Regions from separate parts of the Homo sapiens genome. Here region 2 is linked to region 1. The links are contacts of gene promoters, found by promoter capture Hi-C in human tissues and cell types (Jung and others, 2019). All regions are on one chromosome and are shown on one strand. Each heading gives the region's core, a stretch centred on a gene start or on the middle of the fragment in contact. The rest is flanking DNA. Distances are from core to core; before and after follow the strand shown. Region 1 holds the start of SLIT3 (slit guidance ligand 3). Region 2 overlaps SLIT3 (slit guidance ligand 3).

Region 1 (4,191 bases), core at 1,073-3,572:
AGTGGTCCTCTATACTGAGAAACTGGGTTAAATAAGCCTTAAACAGGTTTCCTTACTGCAGGACTTCTCAGGAACTTAAAAACACTCATCTGTGATGCAATTCTCCAAGAGGGGTGAAGGTGAGTAGCATTTCTCAATCTGTCTTTGCCCAAGGAGACTTTTTTCTCCTCCATGATGAAACATGTGGAATCAGTAGTCATCAGAAGGCACTTGTAGAAATGTTGGATTAGGTGATTTCTAAGGCTGTACCAGCCCAAACACTCCATGATTCTGTGTATCCTGGTGTTCTGGGCCCCTCCTGTATTTCCCACTTGCCTCCTCCTTGGGGATGATTGACTCTGAAGGAAATCCTCACCATCTGTTCTAAGGGGCTTCTCCCAGGAAAAGTCACACTTGAATGCCTATAAAGTCCCTTAAAGATACAGTCTGGCTCATGAAACCCCCCTGAGCAGCTTAAATGGAAAACGCAGTCCCCCACTGCGCTCAGAGCACAGATCCAGGACCAGCCCGAAGGGATTGCAAAACATGCTCTAGCATGCATTTGGGAAAACAAAGAAAACCGTACTGTTTTCTGCTCCAGACAGTCTGAGACGCTTTGTGCCCTTGGGCCCTTGCCCGGTTCTCTCATCTGCCTCAGTCCTGGTACTAAATTGGTTCAAGGTTTGGAGGAAAGCTTCAGAGCAAAGGGATAAAAGGATGTTTAGAGTTCTTAAATACCGAAGTCACCCTGAAGACCGGAGCATAGACCCTCGCCAGCCACCAGGGGGCGATAACAACAGCATCTGTACAGAAAGCCGTTCCCAAGAATAACAGCAGTAAATTGCACCTAATGTGTTTATGAATGATGAAGGGACTCGAGTGTGTGTGTTTGAGTGAGTGTGCGTATGTGTGTGTTTGTGTGTACGCGCGCGCAAGTGGGTGCCCAAAGCTAAGACTTTGAAAATCTGCTAAGTATAATACAATAAAATCTACAACTCTACTATATATTCACAGGATGTGGTCAAGTAGTTGAAAGTTTCCTTGAAGGAAAATGAGGTAGAAGAAATCAGAATAGTATTCTTATGAAAGAAAAGAGAAGCGCTCTCAGGAGTATAGTTGTCACTATGTGAGTGTGTGTGCGAGCATGCATGTACACGTGTGTGTGATTGCCGGTGTATAAATGGGTGTGTGTGAGCCTGAGTATGTGAGAGTGTGTGCGTGGCTGTGAATACGTAGGCACCAGTGTGTGTGTATATATATGCAGGGCTCATTCAGGCCTTCTCAGTGTGAGGGGACCTCAAGGAAATCTGGGCAATACTTCCTCCAGTTCCTGCCCTTTCCTTTCAAACAAACAAACAAAATCATTCCTACAAGTATTTATGGAGCCTCTAACGCACACGCCCCTCCCCACTGGCATCTGGAAAAGCTCAGACCTAGCCAATTTAAAGCGGGCGCTGGAAGAAAGAAGGCGCTGGGGACAGAAGGGATGCCTCGTCTGCGAATGACTTTTGCAAAAACACGTTCTCTTCTGTGATGCTCCAAACAACCCAGGGAGGTGAGGCCAGGTAGGACTGTGGCCCCGGATTTGAGAAAACGAAGGCTCAGAGATGACACGATTGGCCCAGAGTCACCCAGTCAGGAAGCAGAAACCCGAGGATGGAACAAGGCATTGTCAATCCAGGGGTCCAAGTCGCTGCCATCACTACTTTTACCAGTCCACCAAGCGCTGGGTCTGGGCAAAGCAGGGCAAGTTTCCGGGTAAGGTTTGCCAGCAGTGACCTCAACAACATGGACCACGGTGTGTGTGTGTGTGTAGCTGTGGAGTACATTGGTGTCAACCAAGGCTCTTCAGGCAAAATTGTGGATCTCTGCCATGAGTACTAGGTGCGGTAGGGAAGCGGCTTCGTGGGCGACACTGCCATGGTTTGGCGTCCCTAGCAGCTGTGCGACCTCCAGCAAGTCGCTTCACTTCTCTGAGCTGTTTTCAGACGACCCCTTGGAAGATCGTGGACTTAAGTAAAGAATATGAGTAGAGTGCTCAGCTCAGTGCAAAAATTAAAAAAAAAAAAGTGTCAGGAGCCTTATCCGTCCTTGGATCTTAACAGTGAATGAGTTTCAGTGTTTCTTTCCAGGGGCCCTGCTGGCCGAGCCCCTTTCCTTCCCTGGTTCCTTCTCTCTCCCTCCTCTACTGCCTCCTCCCTCCAGGCTCTCGGTCGCTCCAGCAAAGTTCCCAACTTAGTCGACATGACGCGCGGCGCAGCCAATGGGAGGCGGAGTTGGCGTTTCTTGGTCGGGGGGGGGCCGGAGGGGTGGGCCCCGCGTCTCCGGTGTCTGCCGTGCTCACTGAATGGAGAGAGCGAGCGCCGGCCAGCTCACCCGGCCGCCCCGTGCCCCAGCCGCAGCCGCCGCGCTCCCCAGCCCAGCCCCAAGCCGGACCTCCCCGGGCGCCACGCCCCATTGCGCTCGCCCCAGGTCCCCAACCCGGCCCGCGGGCCAGCGGGGCCAGGGGGCGCTCCGCACCTGGGCACTCCCAGCGATGCGCAGCGGGGCAGCGCCGGCCCCGCCGATGGAGCTGCTGTTGCTGCCGCCGCCGCCGCCCGGAGCGCCCCGCTCCGCCCGCGCCCCGTGCGCCTGAGCACCGAGCTCGCCCCTCCTCCGCGCTAACTCCGCCGCCCGCTCCCCAGGCCGCCCGCGCTCCCCGCGCGCCTCCTCGGGCTCCACGCGTCTTGCCCCGCAGAGGCAGCCTCCTCCAGGAGCGGGGCCCTGCACACCATGGCCCCCGGGTGGGCAGGGGTCGGCGCCGCCGTGCGCGCCCGCCTGGCGCTGGCCTTGGCGCTGGCGAGCGTCCTGAGTGGGCCTCCAGCCGTCGCCTGCCCCACCAAGTGTACCTGCTCCGCTGCCAGCGTGGACTGCCACGGGCTGGGCCTCCGCGCGGTTCCTCGGGGCATCCCCCGCAACGCTGAGCGCCTGTGAGTACCCCTGCCCCACCCCACGCGGGCCACCCACCTGGGTCCCACCGAGGGGGCCCCAGGCGCCAGATCCGTCCTTTCCCCTCGGCCTCCCTGGATGCAGTCTCTATTCTCATCCCTTCCTGGATACGATCCCTCACTCTCCGAGCTGGGGGTCTGTAGGCTTGGTCAGATCTGGAAAGAGAGGTCTCGAAACCCCCAGCGATGGGCAAAGAGCAGTGCCTCTCCAGGGGTGAGGGTTCCAGACGCAGGGCCCGCTGACAGCTTCCAAGGAGTAGCTGAGGAGAGGCGAGGGGAGGCAAGAGCACTGCAGCCTCAAGGTCTTAGGGTGAGGGTCAGGGGTCTGCGCTCGTTAAAAAGGGGGGCGGGCGAAGGAGAAAGCTATAGGATGATGGGCCGTCAAGGCGCGGAGGCGGGAGAGAGGGCCCGAGACTGTTGACCTGCTTGGAGATCAGAATGGGCCAGCCGCTCTCTGGCTGCCCTTGCAAGGAAAGTTGAGAGTGTGGGTGAAGGTTTAACTTCTGAGGAACTGGACAGATTCAGAGTGGGTGCTCGCAAAACCCGCTCTGCCTGGAGCGCAGTCTGGGAGATGCCAAGTTGCAGCCCCGGGTGAATTTTTTATGGCTCGGTTATAAATGCCTCCCCGAACGAAGGGGCCGGAGAATGGAAATGCTGACAGCCCTTCAAATGAGACCGAGCGTTATAATCTTACAAACCGCACTCAGCCTCAGATCCTGGGCTTGGCAGCGAATGGAGAGGCGCTTGGAGAATGGGGTGGATTGACCCTAGTTTTAGCCCCAATTGTGCAACCAAATATTTACTTTTCATATGTCAACGTTTTGGAAACATTTATCATTTTGATCCTCGGACCAGATTCAAAACTTGGACTCCGGGGTGGGCTCCTCTTAGTCCGCAGTTGGGGTGGGGTAAGGGAGTGGGGGAGAAACGCTGGAGTGGGTGGGAAGCCTTACTGGGAACCCAGCCGAGAAGTGGGTGAGGGTTTGCTCTAGTGTGGTAGATTCCCTCCGTGTCTTGCTCTCCCTCTTCTCCCCTTCCTCATGTGCCTTAGGGGTAGGCGCCTGGATCTTCCACTCTGCTTTCTTGACTTCAGGCTGGAAGAGAGTAGTGATGACAAGCATTGTCCTAGAGTGTGTTATTCCTGCTAGTCACCTCCTATCACCCCACCTCCTCTTCTCTTCCACTTCTTTGTGCATCTCTGGGTGGAGACTCAGCAGAACTGTCT
Region 2 (4,225 bases), core at 907-3,406, 560 kb after region 1:
TAGTAGAGACGGGGTTTCACCGTATTAGCCAGGATGGTCTCGATCTCCTGACCTTGTGATCCACCTGCCTCGGCCTCCCAAAGTGCTGGGATTACAGGCATGAGCCACCGTGCCCAGCCTGTGAGTTGCTTTTTTTAAAGTGATGGGCTTACTTTGTTCATTTTCAAGAAATTATCTACTAAATAGCCATGTCTGAATAATGAGTTTGCCAGTCTTTCTTTTAGGTAAAAACAGTGTTCCATGAAAAAATGTAAAAGCCAGCTAGTTCAGCTTGCAACTCAATTACACAGGTACTTTTCTCTAGACAACCAACATGCTGTGTGTGTACATCTCCCATTTTGTCATACGGGACATTAAAGGAATGTGTGCTCAAGAGTTGAATGTTAATACAAACAATAATTCTTGGTACTTCATCAAGGGCATTCCTGGTTTTGGTAAAACCTGCAAGTGCACAGAGGTGAAGAATACAGTGACCACCAGTTTCATTTGGTAGCGATGTCCTGATTCATGCTGAGGTGCCAGCAGTTTTACCCTCCACTAATTTTGTACCATCAGTGCAAATGTCAACACAGGGCAAAAGGAAAATAACATTTTAACCTTATTGTAAATATAGTTTTGGCCTCATAGACCCCTGAAAAAGCCTCAGGGACCCCCGGGGTCTATGGATGACACTTTGAGAACCACTCTGGTCATTACATATTGGTGGGCAATGGATAGAGAGAGATAACTGCTCTAAGTCAGCACGAAGTTCCTAATTTAAAAGGCAAGCTTACAGAATCTTATGGAAAGCAGGACAGAAGCAAATACAGGACATCTCAGCCCTCAAAGTCACCAGAATACTCTCTGTGAAGGTAGGGCCTCACTGCCTTCAGAAAGTACAATTATTGCCATGCAACTGTCCTTTTAAATTCATGCTTACCTCACTATTTTAGAACTGAAACCTAAAAATCTGCTTGCTTCCATTTATGGAAATGTTTACAAACATCAGGTTTCCTGGTTCTGGAAACAAACTCTGCAAAGCCTACATCTTCATAACGGTTAGAGAAGAAATGCAGAATCCAGTGCTGGTGAACAGCTTTCCCCCATATCTACCCCTGGTTAATATCCATGATGTTTAGACATATATTTTTGGTCTAAGGACAATGAGCATGGATTTGTTGTCCTATAACTTGATATCCCAAGGAAAAGAGGGGGGAAGGATGACATAGCTCCAGGCACAACTATTGGAAGAAAGGATTTGTATTAGGATGCGGGGTCTGAGAACACTGTGGGAAGCAGGCTGGCAGTGTGCATATGCATGTGCATGTGTGTGTGTGTGTGCACAGCACTGACAGGAGACAGGAAAAGGATGGGGCTCAACCAGGAGGTAGGAGGGCACAGGGCTGAGATGCAACTCTCTGAGAGTGAGTGTGGCAAGAGGTGATGACAAGAATGCACTGGTTGAAGAAGCAAGAAGGACCTGGCCTGGCACTGTGTGGGTTCCAAGGAGTTAGGGGATGGAGGTCTGGGGTCCAGAAAGCTCAGTGGCACTTGGTCCTCATCCATAGTTTTATTGGGGGAGACATGCAGGCAGGAGAAGGGGGAGTGCGACGCAGCAGATGACAAGCACAAGGGAGTGGCTCAGGCAATATGTGCTCTGGGAAGAGAGGAATCCAGGAAATTCTGCCCACCTGGCCTTTAAGAAAGCAAGCAAGAATGTCCTGCCTATGCTACAAACCACCACAGCCACCATTTCTAGAGCATTTACTGTGTACCAAGTGCTGTGCTGGGTTTTCTTAATAGGTAATCTCATTTCACCCTGCTAACAACTCTTCAAGGCAAGTGTCATTATTCCCATTTTGCAGGTGAGATAACCGGAGCTACTGAAGGTTGAATAATTTTTGACGATCACACTGCCAATAAGCAGCAGACTATAGACTCAAGCCCAGGTCCATCTGACCCCAAGTCCTCCCTGTGGCAGAAACCCAGGTCCCTATGTGTTCTGCCCAGTGGCCTGGCTTGCTGGGGGCTTACATGGGTCCTCTTGAAAACTGACATCTGCATTGCAGCAGGGAGGAGGCAAGCCCAGGCACTCTGCATTGCAGCAGGGAGGAGGCAAGCCCAGGCACTCTGCATTGCAGCAGGGAGGAGGCAAGCCCAGGCAGCCTGCCATGAGGCTATAGGTACCTGTCAGTGGTTCTGGCTATGTCCATCCTGACAGCTGGGCCTTCTCTAGCAAGGCAAGCTGCTGCCCGAGAAGAGCCTGCTGCTTTTCATATCCCCCATGCTCCCCAGAGCACTTAATAGAACAACTGCCCAGCACTGACTACATCCTTGACATTCTCTGGCCCAGGGAGAGAGACTGAAATGTGCCTCCAGCCAGCTGGAGGGGTTGATCACATCTTTGGAGAGTGGACCAGCTCTGGGCACAGCAGCACTTATGAGTCCTGGCACAGGCTCTGGCCCAGAGAAGACCTCAGCAGATGGCACCAGTAGAGGACACTTCTCCACACTATTGGACAGTGACAGCCATCTATGGGAGGGGCTGTGGGTGGCCTGAGCACAGGCCGAGAGCTGAGAAGGCTCCCTTCCATTCATTGAGTTCATTGTGCCACACACTGTGGTAGCAGCTGAAGGTACAGTGGCTACCATGACAGATAAGATCCCTTTTCTCAGAAACTGAGAGTAGGGGAGAAAGACAGTAAGAAAACCGACCAGATCAGGCATTTCACACCAGGAGTAGAGGGGGATTTCCCAGGAAAGTAAAGGAGGGAAACAGAGTAGAAAGAACATGTTTTATGAAGACCTCAAGGTGGAAAGATCTTAAATTCAAGAAACCAAGAAGGCTGTGAGATGGAGCAAATAGGATGACAAAGAGGGTGATGTGTGCTGAAAGCTTGAGAAGGGATATGTAAGTTCTTGTAGGTATAGGGAGAGCTGACTCCAAGAGAAATGCAGGAATCCAGGAAGAATTTTAAGTGGCATGATCCAATTCTCATTTTAGAAATACTACCCTGGAGGAAGAAGAAGAGAATGAACAGCAAGAGGAACATTATCTTTCAATAAGCTATGTGTATTATTGGATGGAGATGTGTGTGTGTGTGTGTGTGTGTGTGTGTGTGTGTGTGTGTGTGTATCTATCTGTCTATATGTATGTGTATGTATATTTAAAATGTGTTGGCCACCAGTGTGCCGGGTACTGCTCTGAGAACTGTTCACAGAGACTCAAATTTAATCCTCAGAATCACATCAAGGTGGTGATCATTATAAGCTTTGTTTTACAGGTGACTAAATGTAAGCTCAAAGAGGTTAAGTACTTCACCCAGGGTCACACAGCTCTTAGATAGTAGAGCCAGGATGTGAGCCTCAGCTGCCTGACCCCTGAGCTGCCCCCACATCACTCCAGGACTCTAGTGGAAATTCTGGCCTGGAGCAGAGTCTCTGGGAAGGTGGCTTCCCTCCCTCTCCATTAACATCAGCTGGTTTGAGTTCTTTGTGGGGCATCAGTCAGCACCCCAAAGCTCCAAACAGGAATGGGGAACACCCATTCACAGAGATCTGTGTGGAGTTTCATGCAAGGCAGATGTGTCCTTGTGTGTTTGCACTGGGGCTGAAACAGAGCATTTAAATGCAGGCCAAATGCAAAGGGTGACCTGCCAGAAACACTCCGGCAGTTCTAAGGCTGGTGGGGCAAGAGGGCAGTCTCCTGAAAGGGTCCCTCTGGGAGCCTGGACTGTAGGCTACAGACAACTTTGGAGTTCAGAGTTTTCATGAAGGGCCTGCTACAAAGAGAGCTCTCCCCACCACTGCATCTGCATTTCTGATGTGAAAGCTTTGATTCTGAGTCTTCTGAGCTGTGCTGCCAGGTCGCCGGGGACATTCTGCACTGAAAGCAACTTGTGCTTGGCTCCATCATGCCAAACGCAGCTCTCCCTGAGGAGTTCAGGGGTTTTCATCACACAGATGACGTTTCCTGAGCATCTGCTGTTGCCAGGCAGAGTGCGAGAATGCTGTGGTGAGCCAAGCAGACATGATTCTGCCCACATTAATCACAGAATCACACGAAAGATGTCACCATGGGGGTCAAATGCTGTGATGAAAAGACAGCCAATGCTTTGGCTGTCTTATATAACTTTAGGCCAAAAGCACTTAATAGACATTTACAGAGATTCTACCCAACAACTACAGAATATACATTCTTTTCACCAGCACATGGAACATTCTGTAATATCACCAGCACATGGAA

What was found. Contacts are between HindIII fragments. The study calls those that stand out against the background at their distance.
Region 2: a fragment that was not itself captured here is called in contact with the fragment with the promoter of SLIT3 in region 1 in 2 of the 25 tissues and cell types used here (mesendoderm cells and thymus).

What each region holds. Positions count from the first base shown.
Region 1 is chr5:169,299,270-169,303,460 of GRCh38, reverse strand. It overlaps SLIT3 (slit guidance ligand 3), which reads left to right and starts at 2,322. Exons shown (of 36, transcript NM_003062.4): 1 at 2,322-2,948. The coding sequence starts at 2,752. The HindIII fragment of the contact is 12,348 bases long and covers 1-4,191 here.
Region 2 is chr5:168,734,551-168,738,775 of GRCh38, reverse strand. The region is part of intron 20 of SLIT3 (slit guidance ligand 3); the gene reads left to right. Among named protein-coding and RNA genes, the nearest start is that of SLIT3-AS2, 30 kb to the right of the region's middle. The HindIII fragment of the contact is 5,291 bases long and covers 1-4,225 here.